Regions from separate parts of the Homo sapiens genome. Here regions 2, 3, 4, 5, 6 and 7 are each linked to region 1. The links are contacts of gene promoters, found by promoter capture Hi-C in blood cells and fetal thymus (Javierre and others, 2016). All regions are on one chromosome and are shown on one strand. The core of a region is centred on a gene start or on the middle of the fragment in contact, and the rest is flanking DNA. Distances in the headings are between cores, read along the strand shown.

Evidence for each region. Contacts are between HindIII fragments. The CHiCAGO score rates a contact against its expected background, and 5 or more counts as called.
Region 2: a contact is called between a fragment that was not itself captured here and the fragment with the promoter of SKIDA1 in region 1, in 2 of 17 cell types (total B cells and naive B cells). The highest score is 17.4, in total B cells.
Region 3: a fragment that was not itself captured here is called in contact with the fragment with the promoter of SKIDA1 in region 1 in 2 of 17 cell types (naive B cells and total B cells); the score reaches 5.9 in naive B cells.
Region 4: a fragment that was not itself captured here is called in contact with the fragment with the promoter of SKIDA1 in region 1 in 8 of 17 cell types (total B cells, naive CD8 T cells, M2 macrophages and 5 more); the score reaches 10.6 in total B cells.
Region 5: a fragment that was not itself captured here is called in contact with the fragment with the promoter of SKIDA1 in region 1 in 3 of 17 cell types (naive B cells, total B cells and non-activated CD4 T cells); the score reaches 7.3 in naive B cells.
Region 6: a fragment that was not itself captured here is called in contact with the fragment with the promoter of SKIDA1 in region 1 in 2 of 17 cell types (total B cells and naive B cells); the score reaches 15.8 in total B cells.
Region 7: a fragment that was not itself captured here is called in contact with the fragment with the promoter of SKIDA1 in region 1 in 6 of 17 cell types (total B cells, naive B cells, activated CD4 T cells and 3 more); the score reaches 20.8 in total B cells.

The regions. Positions count from the first base shown.
Region 1 is chr10:21,524,258-21,527,007 of GRCh38, reverse strand. SKIDA1 (SKI/DACH domain containing 1) reads left to right here and starts at 1,326. Exons shown (of 4, transcript NM_207371.4): 1 at 1,326-1,461. RefSeq lists silencers at 302-451, 572-991 and enhancers at 647-1,290, 1,291-1,934. The HindIII fragment of the contact is 4,259 bases long and covers 1-2,122 here.
Region 2 is chr10:22,477,206-22,479,955 of GRCh38, reverse strand. It overlaps LOC124902392, which reads left to right and starts at 1,658. Exons shown (of 1, transcript XM_047426112.1): 1 at 1,658-2,750. RefSeq lists an enhancer at 2,409-2,750. The HindIII fragment of the contact is 4,700 bases long and covers 1-2,750 here.
Region 3 is chr10:22,455,030-22,457,779 of GRCh38, reverse strand. The region is part of intron 3 of LOC105376449 (a long non-coding RNA gene); the gene reads right to left. Among named protein-coding and RNA genes, the nearest start is that of LINC03027, 18 kb to the right of the region's middle. The HindIII fragment of the contact is 3,141 bases long and covers 1-2,750 here.
Region 4 is chr10:22,436,111-22,438,860 of GRCh38, reverse strand. LINC03027 (long intergenic non-protein coding RNA 3027) reads left to right here and starts at 932. Exons shown (of 1, transcript NR_036533.1): 1 at 932-2,750. LOC105376449 (a long non-coding RNA gene) reads right to left here and starts at 1,786. Exons shown (of 4, transcript XR_001747392.2): 1 at 1,710-1,786. RefSeq lists enhancers at 517-1,017, 1,025-1,184, 1,018-1,518, 1,485-1,534 and a silencer at 2,005-2,184. The HindIII fragment of the contact is 6,642 bases long and covers 1-2,750 here.
Region 5 is chr10:22,415,752-22,418,501 of GRCh38, reverse strand. It overlaps SPAG6 (sperm associated antigen 6), which reads right to left. Exons shown (of 11, transcript NM_012443.4): 11 at 892-1,883. The coding sequence ends at 1,814. Among named protein-coding and RNA genes, the nearest start is that of LINC03027, 21 kb to the left of the region's middle. The HindIII fragment of the contact is 2,691 bases long and covers 34-2,724 here.
Region 6 is chr10:22,353,485-22,356,234 of GRCh38, reverse strand. The region is part of intron 2 of SPAG6 (sperm associated antigen 6); the gene reads right to left. Among named protein-coding and RNA genes, the nearest start is that of SPAG6, 9.4 kb to the right of the region's middle. The HindIII fragment of the contact is 9,048 bases long and covers 1-2,750 here.
Region 7 is chr10:22,308,417-22,311,166 of GRCh38, reverse strand. No RefSeq gene overlaps it. Among named protein-coding and RNA genes, the nearest start is that of COMMD3, 6.6 kb to the left of the region's middle. The HindIII fragment of the contact is 2,535 bases long and covers 154-2,688 here.

The sequences.
Region 1 (2,750 bases), core at 77-2,576:
TCTTAATGTTGATTTGCTATTTCCCTCCGGAAAAGATTTCCTCAGGAAACCCCAAATCTAGAAGGAAATACAGCAAACCCTAGAACGCTTTTAACCCTTAAGACATCTTGTATTAAAAGAAAAAAAAAGCATGTATGTCTTAAAACCGGCCAAAGAACCATCTCCTCGCTCTTTATTTCCTCCTGTAAATGCTATTATTTTAAACTCTCCATTTTAAACTCGTCCTTCGGACGAGAGGGCAGAGAATGTGCCCGGCAGCACGCAGCAAATCAGAGGTTTTATCTTACGCCTCCTGGGACTGGGAAAAAAAGTGGAACGTGGCCGAGGGAGCTTCCAGGGCAGAAAAGCGACACAATTCGCTGGGGACGCCGCTGGGCCAGGCCAGGCGGGGGAGGCGCGGCGGGGGCGTCGAGGGCTCTCGGGCTCCGGGCCGGGGCGCCGCTGCGAGGAGGGGAGGCGGTTTTAAGTCATGGGGGCTGGGAGGGCGGCGGCGGGTCGGGCGTGACGAGACTTTCGGAGGCAGGATGGGGCGGCGGTGGAGTTGCCTGGGCTTTCTCAGCACCCCCCCCAACACACCCAAATAAAAAAAGGAAAGTTAGAAGGAGGCGGAGAGGAGGACAGCCATCCCCATTTCCTCCCCGCGACGCCGCGGAAGGGCTGGGGCCGCTGCGAGCAGAGAGAGGGCGCGGGATGAGGCGGGCCAATCGCAGTCAACAGGTCCAGGCCTCAGTGGGGCAGCTGAGCCGGGAGGCCGGCGCCCCCTCCCCTCGGCTCCCCGTCCCTCCCCTCCCTCGCAGGCCCGGCGCGGTAGGGGAGGCCCGGCCCGGCCCTCCCCGCCCCGCGCGGACTCGCTGCGGCCGACTCCGCCGGGGCAGTCGGGGTGGGGGTGGGGCGGGGGTTCCCCGCCGGAGAATCCTCCCCCGGGGCTGGCGGCGGGGGCGGGGAGCGAGAGCCGGGAATGGAGGATTAGGAAGGACTCCAGCTCGGCACGAGCGCGGCCCGCGCGAGGGATCCTGGGTAAAAAGTGGCCGCGCGGCACCGGAGAGCGCGGAGAGGAGCCGGGGTCAGGGGTCACGGCCCTGGAGCCCCGCGTGCAGAGCCCCCCACGTGAACGCAGCGAGCAGGAGGAACCTTTTTGTTTTCGACCGCGCCAGCATGCTCCCCTATTGACCGAGCTGCTTTTCCTGGGCTGCTGGGGAGAGGAGCTCCATTGCGGAGCTCTTAACCCCACCCCCACCTTCCACCGCCAACACACTTCCCAACTCAACCCTTCCTCTCAACTCTCATCCCAGCCCCCCGTCCTGAGCTTGCAATAACGCAGTAAATTTGCTTTAACAACAAGTGGGGGTGGTTGAATTTACTCCTCCCTCTCCTCTCTCCTCCCCTTCCTCTTGCTGCGGTTCTTGACACTACTACAAACCAGGACTATAAACATAAACATGTGTCACTGTAACAGGGCAGGTAATATACGGATTTTGAGGCGGGGTGGGGTGGAGCGGGGCTTGGTCGCCGCTTGGAGGGCAGTAAAAAGTCGCGTTTCACGTGCTCGACGGCTTTGGGGACTCCCGCACACATCGATCCGTTTATATAATGCCGAAGGCACTTGGTCACTTATTCAGCCACGCAGACCCACAAAGCCAGACTTGCGGATAACCAGCGTACCCCAAAGCAAATGCATTTCAATACGAATCCCTCTCCTTTCCCAGCCAGTGCTGCCATTTCTTCTATTAGCAAACAGTAACGTGATACTTGAATCCCCTTTCCTTTTTAAAAATTCTTTTCCAGATAGCCATGAGATCATTTTTCGACCTAAATAGTACATCTCTCCCATAGCCACTACCTACACATTTTGTGCGCAGAAACCCCTTCAAACAGCAAGAAAGTCTATTTAAATGACTGAGTTCGAAATCTGGTGTGCAAAGGGTATTTCTTGGGCTTTGCCTCCGTGCATTGAGCAACTTCTGCTGCAAGTTGCTGACACTGGCGCGGTGGAGATCCGCCACAGCAAGCCTTTTTTATTATTATTTAGTCTATATCTGCCTCTCAACTTTTTTCTCATTCTTAGTTCAACAAGCCAGCAACCACTACTTAAGGTAGAGTAAAGCGAATCCCTTCCCAAGCTTTTTGGCTTGAAACGGAGGGAGATACAGAAAATGTTCAGATGGGGAAGTGGTTCCCTTTGTTCTTTCATTGTTTCTCTACGAACTGGTGGATACAAGGACAAACACTTACCTTCTCTTCTTTTTGCTCCACAAACCAGACGTTCCCATCAGCCTTAAAATACACAATCCACCTTGAAAGTAACTACGGATGTCGGGAGAGTTTGTATTCCATTCTTTTTCGCTCTCTGCCCTCTTTTAGCGTAGGATTAAGTTGCAGAGCACGTTGCTGCAAGCTGTAGCCCCCCCCCCCCCCCGCCTTAGTGAATCGGTCACGTTTAGGACCCTCTAAGTCCATCCTAATTCTGCCAGTAGAATTGAGGGTATTGGAGCTCTAAACTTTCAAAAGGAAAGGGGCCTGCAACTCTCCAGAAAACTTACAAATACCCCGAAATTTTTTACCATTGTGTTTTTGCACCACATCACCAAATAGTATTTGCCAAGAAATAATAGATATGTCTTTGAGAAAAAAAAATTTTTTTAAGTTTATACTTAGCAATGCGCTGCTTAGACAGATGTAGTAAAAGGCAGGTTTGTATCGGCATTTAACGGAATGAGTGCGTTTTCCATAACGTTTGTTGTGCCATGTGT
Region 2 (2,750 bases), core at 82-2,581, 950 kb before region 1:
GAATTCCAGGACAAAACCATCTCTCCAAAAACCGATTATAGCCCAGTGTCTCCTGTTGACTCCATGGTGATGGTGATGGTGATGGGTGTGGTAGCAAAAGCCCCAAGACAGACACAGAAGACCCCCATTCTCTCTATGTGGCCTAAGCCTAATTGCTTAACCTCTCTCAGCCTTAGTTTCTTCATCTTTAAACGCAGATAATAAGGATTTGTCATAAGGAACCAGCAAAGATTCTGTCAGATCTGAAGTCCCATAACAACAAAGGGTGTTTCGTTGTGATTTCTGCAGCAGCTCCAGCTGTTGGGGGAAAATCACTCAGCAAAGCTCTTGTTTGGTCCAGTTCTCTGTGGCACCTCGAGGCAAGACTCAGCCAGCTGGTGACAGACACAGCAGCTTTCTGGGCCCTGTTCTAGTATTGCATCATCTGGGGAGGGGTAGGGTGAGGCTGAGCTAGCAGAATTCAAAAACAGCTTTCAGACTTTTACTGCCAGAGAAGACCAGGAGTTGTATGTACGGTTTCCAAGAGACTATTTGGTACGTGACTTTGATCTTTATCAAGCTAAAAAGGGTAATATAAAATACAAAAACAGCAGATTTGTGTGTATATGTGGGTGAGTGTAAGAGAGAGAAGAGAGACAAAGTTGGGTGGGCAGGGGGGGAGAGAGAGAGAGAGAGAGAGCACCCAGGATTGTCATTAGCAAAGAACAATTTTTAAACGCCTATCCCAGCCTTGTGCAACCCTTCTTGGTTGAGATGAAAGAGTTTCCAAGACATTCCAAGAAATACTCCCACTAGCTGATTTCCAGATGCCATCTTGTGCTCCAAAGGGACAGGAGGACTTTGTGGCTGCCTGGCTCCCACCACTGCCTGCCTCCCACACCAGAGCAGAAAGAAAAGTGGGACAGAACACATTTTACTCCATGCAAGCTCGAGGCCTGATTCTAAATGAAGTGGCTTAGCTCAACGGCCCTTTAGAGAAGGTCAACCCCACGTGGTCTTCATGTAGCTCTGGGTCCTTTAATACTTACTGAATAGCTGCTGGGTGCAGGTATAATAAGTAAAACCCATACCTGCCCAAATGCCCACTGCTGCCATCCTATTGTCTTGCTGCTCCTGCCCTCAATGACCCCCTCCTCCCAGGCGACCAACTTCTGCCCATCAGGCAGGCTCCTTCCCCACCCAGGTGACCTGAGTGCTAGACTTGGGGTTGGGCCGGGGAAGAAAAGCGAAGATGCAAACCACAGTGGTTTTATGAGAGCAGCACTGACCTGCCATCTGCCCACCAAAATGGCTGTCCCCAGCTCTGGGCCTCAGTTAACTATTTGCTGCCAGAGCCTTGAGCCTATGTTAATTATACAGGAAACTTTGATTTAGCAAAAAAGTTGATCTTGCCTCGAGTGACCTGCAGAAACTGCCCACAAGAGCTACAGTCTTGAAGTAGCCCAGGTGGATTTCTTGTTTCTCATGTCAGTAGAAGGTTAGCAATCATGAAACTCTGTGACCATCAGTCTGATCACTGGCAATTTCAGGTTGTGGAACGCTTAGTTTCTTTTAATTGGGTCTGCATTCTAAATTGAAACATAATTAGAGGTAATTTAACTTCTTTGGGTGCTTTACCTGAATCCTTATTTTGCAATTTGAACTTTCCTCTTGTAATTTAAGTGGAAATATATCAAGTAAACAGACAGTTATGTATTTAAATAACCATCATAATCCCCAGGAAGTAGACAGCACCTCTGCCTTGGGCAGCGGTTTGCGGGCACACAAGTCTCGAACTGAAATAAGCAGGCAAGACATAATTAGACAGCGCTTCTCAGCCTACAGTGGTGCCTTACGAGTCTGAGCGACCAGGTCTGCGCATGGAGAGCCCGGCCTTCTTAGGCGGCGACAGGTGTGTCCTCCGGACGGGCTCCTGGCCGTCTCCACCAGCTTTCTCGGGCTGAACGCGGCTGGGCTCCCCCAAGGCCTCCCCTTGCTGACGGCTCCACGCCTGCTGGACGAGAAGCGGCCTCCCCGGGGCGTCGCAAGCCCCTGGGACAAGAAGAGGAGCCGACATTGAGGGAGACCTGAGCAGTGGACGCAGGCAGCGTCAGCCTGGGCGTCCCCGGAGTCGCGGCGAGACCCTGGCTCCCCACCACCGCCCGGCTCTCAGCTTTGGCATCGCGTCTCCAGAGAGGGCGGTGGATGACGAGGAACTGCAGCAGTGTACGACCCCCGGGCTCCAGACGACCCTGGGGAGAGCGCGCAGAGTTCCTGGCTAGCGGCCCCCTCGCAGCCGGGCACCCCTTCTCGGCTGCGCGCAGCCACTTAGGGGCACAAGATAAGCCCCTGGGGAGGGAGCGGGCTGCAGGCGCGGTGGGGAAGAACGGCCCGGACGCAGCCGGGCACAGGGAAGGCCGGGCCTGCAGACTGGAGAGACGTGGGCTGCGGTGAAACCGTTAGGGCTGCTTTGCCGCGCACAGACGCGGAGGCCTTTACAAGGCCGGCAGGCCTCGCCCAGGGCCTGGGCCGCCGCAGGTGCCTTTGGGTCACACCCGGGGCGAATCCCACCCCCTCCTGGGGCCGCTTCTGTTTACCAAACCCCTCAGGCTATTGCGTTAGTTGTGCGGGGGAAGGATAGAGGCAGGGTCCTCTGGTGGAGGGGAGGGAACTGGGGACCCGGGGCTGCTGGGGACGCAGGCGACAGAATGAAAGGCGAAGAGGCGGCAGCTCGAATCTGTCTGGGGGTGATTTTAACCGGCGCAGAGGTG
Region 3 (2,750 bases), core at 161-2,660, 930 kb before region 1:
AACACATGGAGCAGGAATCAGGCAAGGGTCGTGACAGAGACGGCAGAATGTCTCTAAATATTATTTCTGACAATACAAAATCAATTTACATTTAATACATTTTAAAACAGCCAACCTACCCATATGATTTGATATTACAAAGGAGAGCTGAAATGGAATCTTAATGTGGTTTGTAAGCATATTCAGCAGAGGTTTATTATTTCTAAAAATGCTTTGTGTAATCATAGTACTTTATCGTTGAAATTGCCAGGTTTTGTGATACAAATATATTAGATTCATAATTAAAATGCTGTTGTCTATTAATGCCGCCACAGCATTTTCCCCAGGCAGACACTTAAAAAAAAATCCTATATACTTTCAAGGATGAGTGATCTCCTCTTTTAGGAGAGATTCCTCCCTCCACATGCTTTATTTATTAATACGATCAATTCAGGGAAGAATAAAGCATCCTCAGAATGAGACTAATGAGGCCTAAGAGCACAAAATTGACAATAGTCATCACCTTGGCCCAATTGTGAAATAGTCTCTCCAGACTACCCACTCTTCTGTAGTTTTAAAGTGGTATTGATTTCTAAGGCTCATCAAACAGTGTTTTCAGAGTAATCATAGAAAAAAAAAATAAAGATACAATGAAAGTTATTGTTGTTGTTTTCTGGGCATGGTGGCTCACACTTATAATCCCAGCACTTTGGGAGGCTGAGGCAGGAGGATAGGTTGAGCCCAGGATTTTGAGATCAGCCTGGGCAACATAGCAAGGCCCTGTCTCTATAAAAAACAAAAAAATATTGCTGGGCATGGTGGCATGCTCCTGTAGTCCCAGCTACTCAGGAGGCTGCGGTGTGGGGTTATCGCTTGATCCCAGGAGTGCAAGGCTGCAGTGAGCTGTGATTGTGCCACTGCACTCCAGCCTGGGTGACAGAGCCAGACCCTGTCTTCAAAAAATAAAAAAACCTGAGATGAGGAGGTTGAAGAGGAGAGAAGCATCATCAGGGCAGGAAAGCAGCAGTTCAAAGGCCAGAGGCAGGATGCACTGGAGAGCAGGCCAGCCTGATAGAAGCAGAGCAGTGCAGACGTGGAGGGGGCACAGCTGGGAATTGCCTCAGATGTCTTAAGGCACTGAACAGCCACTGAAGGAGGGAGTGGGGCTGTCACTAGAAACACATTTTATACGCACATTAAAAAAAAATACTATAGTTGCTGTTGTAGTCTGTACCCTGTGTCATGTCCTGCTCTTCTCCTAGCTGTATATCAGAAACCTTTTCAATGTGTTCATCAGAGCCACTGTTAGTTACAAAATGGTAAGTCATTCAACCATTCCCTTATAATCAGATATTTAGACTTTGTTGAATAATTTTGATTATTATAGAGTAATGCAAGTAATTTTGTACTTAATACCCTTCTTCCTATTTAAGAATAATTCTGTGTCAGGATATGTTCCTAGATGTCACACCAGCCAGAAGTGACAATATCCATTTCCTTGACTATTTGATGGGTGAAAAAATCATTATCTTCTAGTTTCAGTTTACATTCCTTCAATGACTAGTAAAATTGAGTAGGTCTCCATATTTTGTGACAAGTATTATTAGGGCAAAAGATAAAGTTATAAAGTAATTTAGGGAACACATAAAGAGAATTTGGTATTTTATACCGCAGTAAACCTGTGGTATGTGCAGACCAGTGAAACCATTTTAGATTAGGCTACGGTTCTTTAATAAAGCTACATTTTTTAAAATCACTGTCTTCTCTAAAGGCTAAATAAATTGTTCTCTGAAAGAAAGGCATTAACAAGCTAATAAAGTATACCTATAGACATGGATGGAGAGTGAAATCCAGTATCTATATGGCTTAGATACCAGATTAATCTGTTTATATGGCGTAAGCACAAATCTATGCCCAAATCAGTGTCCAAGTATCCGCGAACCCGCCTAGTCTACCAATAGAAACACAGGCTCAACTTCTTTTTTATTGAGCTCAGGATGTATCTGTAATGATCTCATGGAGGGTGGCTTTTCAAGGAACTCCGGGTGGTTGTAAAATAGTGGCTTCACTGAACCACCCAACACAGGAAAGCTATGTTTTTCAGCCCATTAGGAAAAACCCCAAATCAATTTACAGCTGTATTCAGGAAAAGCTCAGAGCAAGATTGCTGAAGGAATTCACTTCAAAGGCCGAGTTCTAAGAGGGATCTTTTTCTCCCTCCAGCTGCCTCCAGGATAGGACCCTACTCTTAAAAGATTTGTTTGAAATTTACGTAAAATCTGGCTGGTTCTCCAGGCAATAATCACAGCCACTGAGGAGAGGTCAGGCCTCTGATGGAGCACACGCCTGAGGTCTGACTGCCTGTATAAAATGCAAAGATGACAAAAAAGGTTCTGGTATGAGTGGAACCATCCTTCTTTCTGAGGGTTGTTTCCGGAGGCCACCTGTGGAGGGCCAGCATTGGGAGGCCCCAGCAGAAGTAGAGGTGGCCCCTGGCCGGCACATCCAGTAGAACCCAGGGCTGAGGTTGGTGGTGGATACCTGTAGTTCTAGCTACATAGAAGGCTGAAGCAGGTGGATTCCTTGAGCCCAGGAGTTCAAGGCCGCAGTGATCTATGATTGCATCACTGCACTCCAGCCTGAGTGACAGAACAACATCCTGTCTCTAAAAATAAAAAAAAAAAAAAAGATAAAAATAACCAGTCTAGTGCCATCAATTCAATAGCTATTGAATACCCCTGTAAAAGCCAATCATTTAAGAACTAGTTTTA
Region 4 (2,750 bases), core at 151-2,650, 910 kb before region 1:
AGGCATGCCACCCTAACTCCCTGCTGCTGGAAATGAGAATATGTCTGAGGGTAACAGATGAACAGTAATAAATGGCTTCCATTTTCTTCATACATTTTTGATGGGCTGACCTCAGAGAACCAATCCCTCTAATGAAGTGGAAGGCATCCTAGAAGTGAGAGCTCACTTGTTTCACTTTCTTATTTGGAAAATGGAATGCTGGCGTGACCCCTTCTTAGCTATTCCTAATGTATTACTGCTCCAAAACACAAAGAGCAGGTTCAGAGATAACTTCTCCTTGCATCATTCGCCTTTTGGTTTTATGTTTGTCTCACAATAACTTTAGATAATGTGCCCTGTTTCTTTTTTTTCCACTGATTCAGCAAGTATTTACAAAGCCCCCAGAACACTGCTAGGTACCCTGCTAGGCTCCAGGGAACAAAAAATTCCCTGCTCTCCAAAAGGAGATAAAAATCAAGTGGGCAGAGAAGCCAATAAACGTGTAAAATGCGTTATCATACCAGGAGGTTATAAATGCTACAAAGAGAAATAAAACAGGAGTATGGGAGATGGGCAGTAACAAAAAGCTCTAAATCCAAACTTTACTACGCTGCTGTCAAAAAAAAAAAATATTCTATGCTCCCCCCAACCCTGTTTTGTTTTTTGTTTTGTTTTGTTTTGCCCTTGCAGCTTGCCAGCTCTAACAATAGCTGCCTTTTAAATAGTAGTCACTCTGAGGGATGAGAAATTACCTAATGGGTCCAAAGGACACTATTTGGGTGGGGGCAGCACTGAAAGCCCAGACTTCACCACTCTGCAATACCTGGAAGCAACAAAGCTGCACTTCTACCTCCTGAATCTAAAAACAAAACTAAAATAAACAATAGATTCTTCACTGCTGACTCCAAGCCCCTTTCTTAGGTTCGGTTTCCTCCCGCTTCTCTGACCAGGCGCTTCCATGGGCTCTGCATAAAAATTCGAAGATGATGGGATCCCCAAATCAGCTAGCAGCCCCACAGCCCTCCCGCCTTCCTCCCCTCTCTCCACGCCTCCCCCAGGCCGGCGATGCCGTCAGGGCCCGTGTCTGAGGCGTCCGGTGGATTCAGCAGAACAAACATCATAAAAAGATTATTTGCGAGAGGAGAAGACGATGCTGTGAGAACTTGGTCCCAGAGACCGTCTCAGAGCAGCAGAAAAACCGCAGGAAACCTAAGGAGCACGACCCTGACGGCGACGGAGGGGGTGCGCGCGGACAGCACTGTCACCTCCCGCCGACGCCAGGGCTCAAATCGGAACGAAGACTGGGCGGCCACAAATGCCGGCTTCTCCTTTCTTTCGCTGAGGCGGAGAAATCGCCCAGCGGTGCCCGGCGCGCCTCCCGCGGAAAGCGGGCGGTGACCATTCCGACAGGCCGTCCGCAGCGCTCCCTTTCCGCAGACAAAGCTGCCTCGAAAGGCGCTCCGCGGCTCCCGAGTCACCACGTTCCATTCGGCAGAAGAAAGCGAAAGCGGCCGCTCCCTGTCAGGCAGCCAGACAATAGCGGCGGGCAGGCCGCTCCACGCCAGCATCTTTGTTTCCCTCGCGCCGGGAAACGAAGTCTCCGGATACCACAGAAACCAGAAGCCGATACCACAGAAACCAGAGGCCGCTCTTCCCGCTCGGACGTTTACAGCGGGCGGGAGCGTGGCGGCCACCTCCGTCTTGGGGAAGCGGCAGGTTGAGCCCCGCACCTTGCTGTGCCCTCTAGAGCGAGCGGAGGAAGCAGGCGAAAAGCTGCTGCGAGATGTTGCGGCCTTGCAGACGTCTCAGCTCCTCCCGGCACGGCGGCCTGGTAAGGCGGGAAGTAGCGCCGGCCCCGCGCGGAAGGAAACGTGCAGCGCGATGCGGCTTAGCGCGGCTTTATAGAGCCGAGGCTTTATAGAGCCGCGCCCCGGCGACCCCTGCGGTGACTGCTGTCGGTCCGCGTTGTGTGTGTTCTCTGTTTCGGCCTCCGCTGCCCGCTGCGGCCTTGCCCCTGCGCCTCGGAGTAGCCGCCGCGGGCCTGTCTGCTGGAGCAAGGAGACCCGGAGGCCGTCCCAGGGGCGAGGGGGTAGCGGCCCCGGCCTCTTGGGCCCTCGGCCTCGCGCCCACCGAGCCCTCTGCCCGGGTTTGGTTGGGTGTGGAGCTTGCGACGCGCCCACTTCCTGGGCTGTGCTTCTGCCCGAGCTGATGCCTCGCCGCGACGCCAGGCCCTATCTTGACAGCGGGTGCCAGCAGGTCCAGGCCTACTGACGGGCGGAAGTCGGCCCGGTGCCCCCTCACACGCCCACACGCCGGGCGTGCCTCAGTTTCCTCTATTGTGACAGAATAGAGATGAGACGATGCAGGTTAAAATTACCTACCGGCGCATAATGAGTTCTCCAGCATCTAGCTAGTTCTACCATAGGATTAATACCCAAAACCACGTGGGTGGAGCTGAAAAACACGATGCTGTGGGGGGAAGAACCCAAAAAGCCATAGTCGGTCTGATGTCCATTTATAGGACATTCTAGAAGAAGCAACAGTGGCGATGCAAAGCAGTTGCCTGGGAAAGGAGTGGAACAGGACAGAATGGAATGCACAGGAGCGGGGGAACTTTGGGGCAGTGGTGGGACAATTTCATATCTTAATAGGAGCGGCGGCAACATGACGTATACAGTCGCCCCAAATCATCAAACTGTAGTTTCTAAATGGGTACGGTTTATTAACATTCAAATTATAAGAAAAGTCATTTCCTCAAAAGTTTCGGGGTT
Region 5 (2,750 bases), core at 130-2,629, 890 kb before region 1:
AATCTCACAACATACTTTTCAAAAAGTAAAGCTTCATTTTGTTTAAAGAGTTTTATGTCAAGAAACATTTCATAGCATAAATTTTCCACAATGCATATGATCAAATTATAACACCCATCTGAACACTATTAAGTATTTTATTACTTTGTTTAGTGCTGTTTGATAAGTATGAAATTATCTATGAAGTGAAAATTTTCAACTAGGAAATTTGACATTCCAACAATATCTGAGGTGGTTTTAACCCAGATAAACTAATTTCTGTCATTACCAACACATCTAAGAAAAACAGCCCTAATGAAGAAAGATAAAAACTACTTTTATTTTCTCCAATTAAAAGATTCATAAGACAAGCTGTGTAGGCATGAAAGAAAGAAAGGAAAGCTACAAAACTGGGAATACAAATTACATTTTCCTATTCAACAGGTCAAAGAAATTGCTGCAAGGAAACAAAACAGGCCCAAGGAAGTATTAAAAAAAAATGAAATAACCAACAATCTTAGCCGGATATAAGGCAAAACAAAATGAGGTAATCTCGGGTATTATGAAGTTTTAAAAGACACAACAAAGTTATGCACTGTTAGGAAATAATGATGACAGAGATGAATCCAGAAAATACAAAAAACAAACGGGTAGCTCCTTTTGCATGAAAAAAATAAAAAAAGAGAGAGAGAGTCAAAGAAGGAAACCTGAAAACAGAGTCAGACTGGAAACACTGTGGCCTAGGGGCTGTGTGGGTTATCATTCACCTCCTCCAGGAGAGAGCAGCAGAAGTAACATCCCTTTAAAGCAAAAGACACATACACAGCAACTAACCAAGACCCATAAATCCAATCACATATTCCCCAAGGTCAGCAACACACTGGATAGGAAAAATGAAAAGGACAATTCTAATGCTGTTTTTATTTAAAATTTTATTGAAACCCTCTTTCACCCGTTTACCACTTCCTAAGTAAAAATGCATGTAAACTCTGAGCCTGATGGTATTAGCTTCAAACTATTCCTTAAATACCTGAAAATGTGACTTTTGAAACTTGGGAAAGTGACGTTAGGACAAGGATCCATTTTACATGCCTGCTTCTTTGTTCATTCATGAGCAGAGCTAGACTAAGAAACCTTTCAATGAGAGGGAGAGCATGTATGCAGGAGTATAACTCTCTATTCTGAATTCTACCCTCGCTGGGCCCATGAAAGGTAAGGAACACTTTAGATAGGGTGGGGAAGGAGGTTTGGAAAACTTGTGATAAAGAGGAGTAAATTTTTCCTAAATTCTTAGTAAAACCTAACAGGTTACCCACAGAGTCCGTGTCTTAAGTTAATGCACTTATATAACTAGCATCAGAGTCTCCTTCAAGTGCCCTGTATATCTGTCATCAGTTTCCTCCTTCAAAGATTTCTCTTGTGTATACTACTATATAGTTAGCAAGGCCAGCTTTCCTTGCCTATGCCTATGACAAATTGGCTAGAATAATTTAGGGTTTTTGAATGCCATCTCTTAACTATATCTCATTGGAGGTGTCTGCATGTACGAGTGTGTGTGGTTTTTAACAGAATAACAAAATGCCTTAAGGCCCTTTAACGTGTTTTTAAAATCTACCTGTAGAACAAATCCTATGCATGCGAATGACCATGAATAGTTCCTCACATATTCAAGCTACGAATGTTTAAAGTATTACATAAATTTAGAAAATATTATCTAAAGGTATTTCCCATTAAATAAATCTAGAATATACTTAGTTCAAATATTTAGAAGGATTTAATTACTGTTACTCAAAACTACTCTGCTGTGAATTTGAGTATCACAATATAACTTTGCTCAGTTATTAAGTGGTTGATAGCTGTCCACCCTCTGCAGAAGTGTATCTGAATATCCAGGGGAATAATACCTGAAAAAGAAAATACACTATTAAATGCTGGTGAAACGATCAACACAGCAGGCACATAAGATTCAATATAGGGGATTTATCTGAAATAATCCTGTGAGTGAAATCTCAAATACACTCTGAATAATTATGCTCCAGTAATGCTTTGTGCATAAAGTTAGAGGCTATCCAGGAGGAAAATACGAATTCATAAAACTGTGCTACAGAAGTAGCAAAACATTTAAGGGATATAAATGTAATGGCAAAGGGGACATTTTCCAAACAAGAATCTTCAATCCACTGACAATATTTTATTACAGAGACTTCATTTTAATCACATCAAGTGGCTAATGTTGCTTTAAGGATCCTAGCTAATAGATTTTTTTTTTCATAAGTTAGACTACACAGTCTATTGTTACTAATCAACTTCTGCATTCTAACTGCCTTAGAGATCATTCTCAGCATGGGTTTTAATCAGATCTGGTCACCTAGGAAAACAAAAATTTCTGGAAGTATAATTCATATTGAAAAACTATTTAATAAAATATAATTTAGTATTGAAAAACTATTTACAAATACTTGTATCATAGAAACCTAGGAAATTAATCATTTTTACTATTAATAGTTCTTGGGCATCTATAGTACTATACATTTACATTCATAAATTGAACATTTTATACAAGATTTAGTATAAAAGTATTAAATATGTTGATCAGTGCATTGTGAGATGCTTAATACGTCATGGAAATAACTTACATGCAGATAAATGAATGTCAAATAAAATTTAGCAGGCATTCTAGAATAATTTTTTAAATCTATGGAAGTATAATTCAAAAATTCTCAAAACACTCAAAATAATTAAGCTTCTGAAGGCATTTTCTCCAGATAAAA
Region 6 (2,750 bases), core at 164-2,663, 830 kb before region 1:
AATAAATGTCTTATATCCTCAGTAAAATAATAAACCTCTCTAGGCCAGAGCTTGTTTTAAACTTCTTTTCTATTCTTCAAGTGACCTAGCATAGGTAATTTGTAATTTGTTCTCAATATACAGCTAGCCCAACACTTGTGCTAATGGACCTAGAAACTACCATCCACTTTGATTTTAATACTACAACCATTACATATTCTCCTGTTACAGTGTAAGTCTAATTATACTTATCATCCTTACTCTAATAGATTTTTTAATATTTCTGTAACAAATTATGATATTTATATGATGATTTTTACTGAACCAAGTTTCACAACACTGATGAATTGTATAACATGTTCTCATTTCCTTCACTGGTCATTTTTTATTTAAAATTATTTGTGTTCCTCCCCTGCCTTTTTTTAGAATAAGAATTTTCAGGCCTTGATTTGGTTTCTCCCAGCCTTTATTGATTATATACCTCTGGCCATTGTTCCTGCATTTGATTAAGAAATTACAAATTTTGGTATCACATATCTGTTTGCCTTGTTTTCTTGAAATACTTTTTCAGACATAAAGTCAATTGTGATTTAGGGTGTTATCCCTTATAACACACAAAAAGTCTTGTAATTTATCTAAAGTGTCAGATTGAATCACAAAAAGTATGGCCTTTTTACATAGAATTCAATTGTAATAGTAAATAATTCAAGAAACTATTATGAGCAAGAATAATCTGTTTTCTCCTTTGAAATTTATTCTCATTAGCTATAGTATCTTCCAAGTTTTGTTTGGTGATTCAGTGTTGATTCAGTTGTTTGTGAGTAAAGGACTACCATATCTGATATATCATTTTTTAGTGGAAGGGCTGAGAGGAAGGTGGGATGGGGACCAGCACATCATAAATTCATTCACTTATTTAGCAAACACTTATATAGCATTTCCCATGTGCCAGGTACCTCTCTAAGAAATTTACAAATAGTAACCCATGTAACCCTCATTACAATCCAATGAGGTAGATGCTCTTCATGGCTCGCGTCTATGCTCTCCGGTTTCTCCTCCCTACTGTCTATTACAGCCCATTTGCCAAGAAAAACTGGCCTATGTGCCAGGTTTGGAATGTATACCAAAGGGTATATAGTCTGTTGAATTCACATTATTTCTACCATTAGCATTAATCATAACTGTCTTCCATTGTTACTGTATGAAACCAAAATTTAATTCATTTTTCTAGTGCAACTGTCTGACTCTTTTTTTTTTTTTTTGAGACGGAGTCTCGTTCTGTTGCCCAGGCTGGAGTGCAGTGGCGTGATCTCAACTCACAGCAACCTCCGCTTCCCGGATGCCTCAGCCTCCCGAGTAGCTGGGATTACAGGCGCCTGCCACCACACCTGGCTAATTTTTGTATTTTTAGTAGAGATGGGGTTTACCATGTTGGCCAGGCTGGTCTCGAACTCCTAACTTCAGGTGTTCCACCCAACTCAGCCTCCCAAAATGCTGGGTTACAGGCGTGAGCCACCGTGCCTAGCCAGCTGTCCCTTGATTAGGTCCCAGCCACCACCATCTGTCTGTGAGATTCTCAACTGAGTGAGAATGTAGAACATGAAAGCTATGCGAAGTTGGATTTGCATTATACTCCAGATAAAATGATTGGAACTTAACATATTTACAATTACATGAGGAAATATAAAATGGGCTTTTAATATAGTTTTCAAATTAACATGTTAGTTCCACATATCCAAATCTTTCTTTCCAGCTATCTGTCTCCTGAGCCCTAGCACTCTACATCACCACAGTCACTGACGCATGGATATCTCAGACACGCTTCAACCACTGAAGAGTAAAATCACAATTTCTCTCTGCTCTTTGCATCCTTTCTCTACAGATGAATGGTGCTAATGTGTCCAAGCAACCAGAAGTCCAGGAGGCATCTTGAAGTCATCTCTCGCCTTACCTGCCCCAACCCCTACTCCTAAGTCACCAAGTCCTGCAGATGTTACCCCTTTAACATTTCTTATCAAACATGACTGCTATAGCAAAAATGAGCACCCAGTCTCCTGATCCTGATTTAATCCCCTCTTATCTACTCTCCAAAAGACTGCTAAAATTGCCTTTCTAAAACACAAAGTGGATCCCATGACTCTTCCAATTAAAACACTTCAATGGCTTTCCATCAATTCCAGGAGAAATCTAAACTTCATACGAGGCCCTTCATAATTAGACTTGTTTCTTCTCCAACCATGACTGACTCTCCTCTCCTTGCCCTATTACCCTGAGCTCCAGTCATAACTAAACATTGGCCTTTTCCATGAGTACCACCTTTTCTCTTGTCTTTGTGCCTTTACACATAACGTTCCCTCTACCTGAATGCCATTTTATCTGGCTAACTCCTAGGAAATTCAGCACAGTATCTGTGTGATTATATACCTCCTCCTAGATGTCTCCCTTGAACGATATCCCTCATTCCCAAATCTTGAGTAAGGTGCCCTTCGAATAAACAATAATTTATTTATATGTCTTTCCATTAGCAAATAAGCCACTTAAGCACAGGGACTATGCCTCCGATTTTTGCATGGTCCGCATCTAAACATCCATCTGATACTTGGACACTCAATAAATGTGAATAGAATAATGAATAAACCAGCTGTGGAAATTAATGTGCAATTTTCTCTCTTTTCAGGTAAATTTTAGTTAAAATAAAAGCAAAATGGGTAATATTGTGTTCACAGTTGTTTTCTTTTTAGGTACAAGAAGTCAGGTACGTGCGTAGCACT
Region 7 (2,750 bases), core at 172-2,671, 780 kb before region 1:
GAGGGAAGGAGGGAAGAAGAGAGAGAAAGGGGGGAAAGAGGAAGAGGAAGGAAGAGAGAAAGGACCTGAGAAGTGTCACAGAAAGCTTATTTAGTGTTTATTTTCTGTGACACAATCCAAGATTCTTTTAGCTACAATGAATTCAACTAAGCTTCATTAGTAAGGCTTGGAAAAGACTGAAAGATCATCTGTTTTGTCCAGAATCTAATCAGTTTCAAGATGTCCTACATTTAGACTACAACAGCAGAGAATGTCTAACAGAGTCTCTTCGTTTTTTAGGTCTGGATTTGGAATCTCTGTGTTTTTTCATACCTTAGAAATTGGAGTTTGGGTTGGTTTCACGAATTCCAGCAAAAAATGGAACAAATGGGCCTATGCTGTGGGATATTATTGTTGAAAGCCAGTAACTTTTTCAAGTTTGTATTTTGAGAACATGCTTTTTACATGTTAAAATGTGTACAAATAAGTATATTTTGTTTAAGGAACTATAATTTTACAAACAAAAATGAAAACAAAAATAAAGGTTTTTGTAGATTAAAACCAAAGTAACAGTATAATTGCTTATAAACTGAAAAATGTAACTATATTCACTTGTCAAATGAAGCATTTTAGAATGGAAGTTAGTATATAAGAAGGGATGATTTGCATTAAATACATTATAAACAGTTAAGGAGACTTTACAGCTAAAGTACTTTTAACTCATTTAAAGTAAGCATTTAAACCAAAATTAATATTTCAAAAGAGCTTACATGGCAATGAAAGCCTAGATAAGTGTTTTAATATTTTTAATTGTGTACAATATTTAAAATGATACTGGTTAAGAATTTAACATTTTGGGCCGGGCGCGGTGGCTCACGCTTGTAATCCCAGCACTTTGGGAGGCCGAGGTGGGTGGATCATGAGGTCAGGAGATCGAGGCCATCCTGGCCAACATGGTGAAACGCTGTCTCTACCAAAAATACAAAAATTAGCCAGGCGTGGTGGCATGCATCTGTAATCCAGCTACTAGGGAGGCTGAGGCAGGAGAATTGCTTGAACCTGGGAGTCGGAGGTTGAGTGAGCCAAGATCGTGCCATTGCACTCCAGCCTGGCAACAGAGTGAGACTCTGTCTCAAAAAAAAAGAATTTAACTTTTCTATTATGGTTGTTATATTCAACAGAATACTGATTTTATCCCCCTTTTCAAATTAAATATAGACTTGAAGCCATTTTATGGATAAGTCAGTCTAAAAACTACATTTTTAAAAATCCTAGTAGAATAATTGTGTTCAGCTTTTTCACATTTGTTACATAGCTAGAACTATTCAGAAAATACTTTGAATTGTTTATACGTAGCTGATTTTTACACCGTGGTGAATGTTTAGAAAGTAGTTTTACAGAGTTTTGAGAAAACAAGCACCTAAAAAAATAGATTAAACTTTTCCACTGTGTTTCTTCCCATATACTCAGTTTTTCCCTGAACTTTTGTTTCATTGTTTTATTAAGGTTAAAACATAAATGTTTTTCTAACTCTCTCAAATGTTATTTTCAAAATTAATTTTCTTTGTGTAAGCATTTTAATCTATATTTTATGAAAGGGGATGGGGAGGCAAGTTTTATAAAATCTTTTTAATGTAACAAAACACCAAGAAAATAATGACTAGCAACAGGTGAAAGGGAGAATTGTATTTATATAGTCAGTTTAGTCCATGTAATTAGAAACTTGGACCTGAATTACTGGCGTAATTACTCAACTTTCTTTTCTTTTTTTCTTTTTTCTTTTTTTTTAATGCTAACAGAAATAGGCCGGATCATTTAGAGCAGCAGTATTCTAAATCAAAATTAATCAGATAATTGGCAACTTTTATTTGACTTTTAGTGCTCTATAAATTACAGACCAAAAACAGGAGAAATTTGCTAAAGAATAACAATGTAGATGGAAATATGTGGGTAAACAAGGCCCTAAGAAAACTGAATTTTCAAATGGTTTTCTTAGAATTTGAAAATGAAAGAAAATTTTAAATTAGGCCTAGCTGTGATATATAGGTGAGTAGTTGATAGATCTATAAGAAAACTTTTATTTTTGCTTAAACAATAATTAAAATGTTTATGAATTGAAATAAAAAATAGTTTTATAAGACCAAAAGTATCAATAAAGACATACATATTTTGTTTTATAAGTTTCAATAGCAATATACATTCTTCTTTATAAAGAACTTTCAACAGTGTATACTGGAAATGTTGGAAAAAAATTGATTTTGCACTTGTCAATTATAATAGAAGGAAAATAATATTCTTACATATGTTTTTATATACTTTTGAAAGTTGCCTTAAATTATTTTTGTAGCAAGATGAACATAAATAAAAATATAAAATACAGATGTTTAGAAGTCAGTTTAACCAATAATTAAAGTGCTTCTAGAAACCTAAAAGAGTGTTTTCAAACGAATACTTTTAAATTAATTTTAATTTCATTTTGGTTTTATTCTATTTCTAAAAGTTGCTATGATCAATATTTGTCTGTTTGTAGAAACTATGACATCTATGATGACAAATGTTCAAACTGAGTCATAATGATAGTCTGTTAGGTTAAAATCAAGAGTCACTACAGGAGAGTAGTCATTTTGCAAACATCCTGCCGTGTTAACAGGGGTTGGGGGAAAGCATATGTCATAAAGTAACAGACTTAAATCTTTAGCTAAGTAAGCTTTAAGTATCTGTCCATTGCTATAAATAGTATAAAGACAATCTAACTGTGTTTGCTTAAGCTT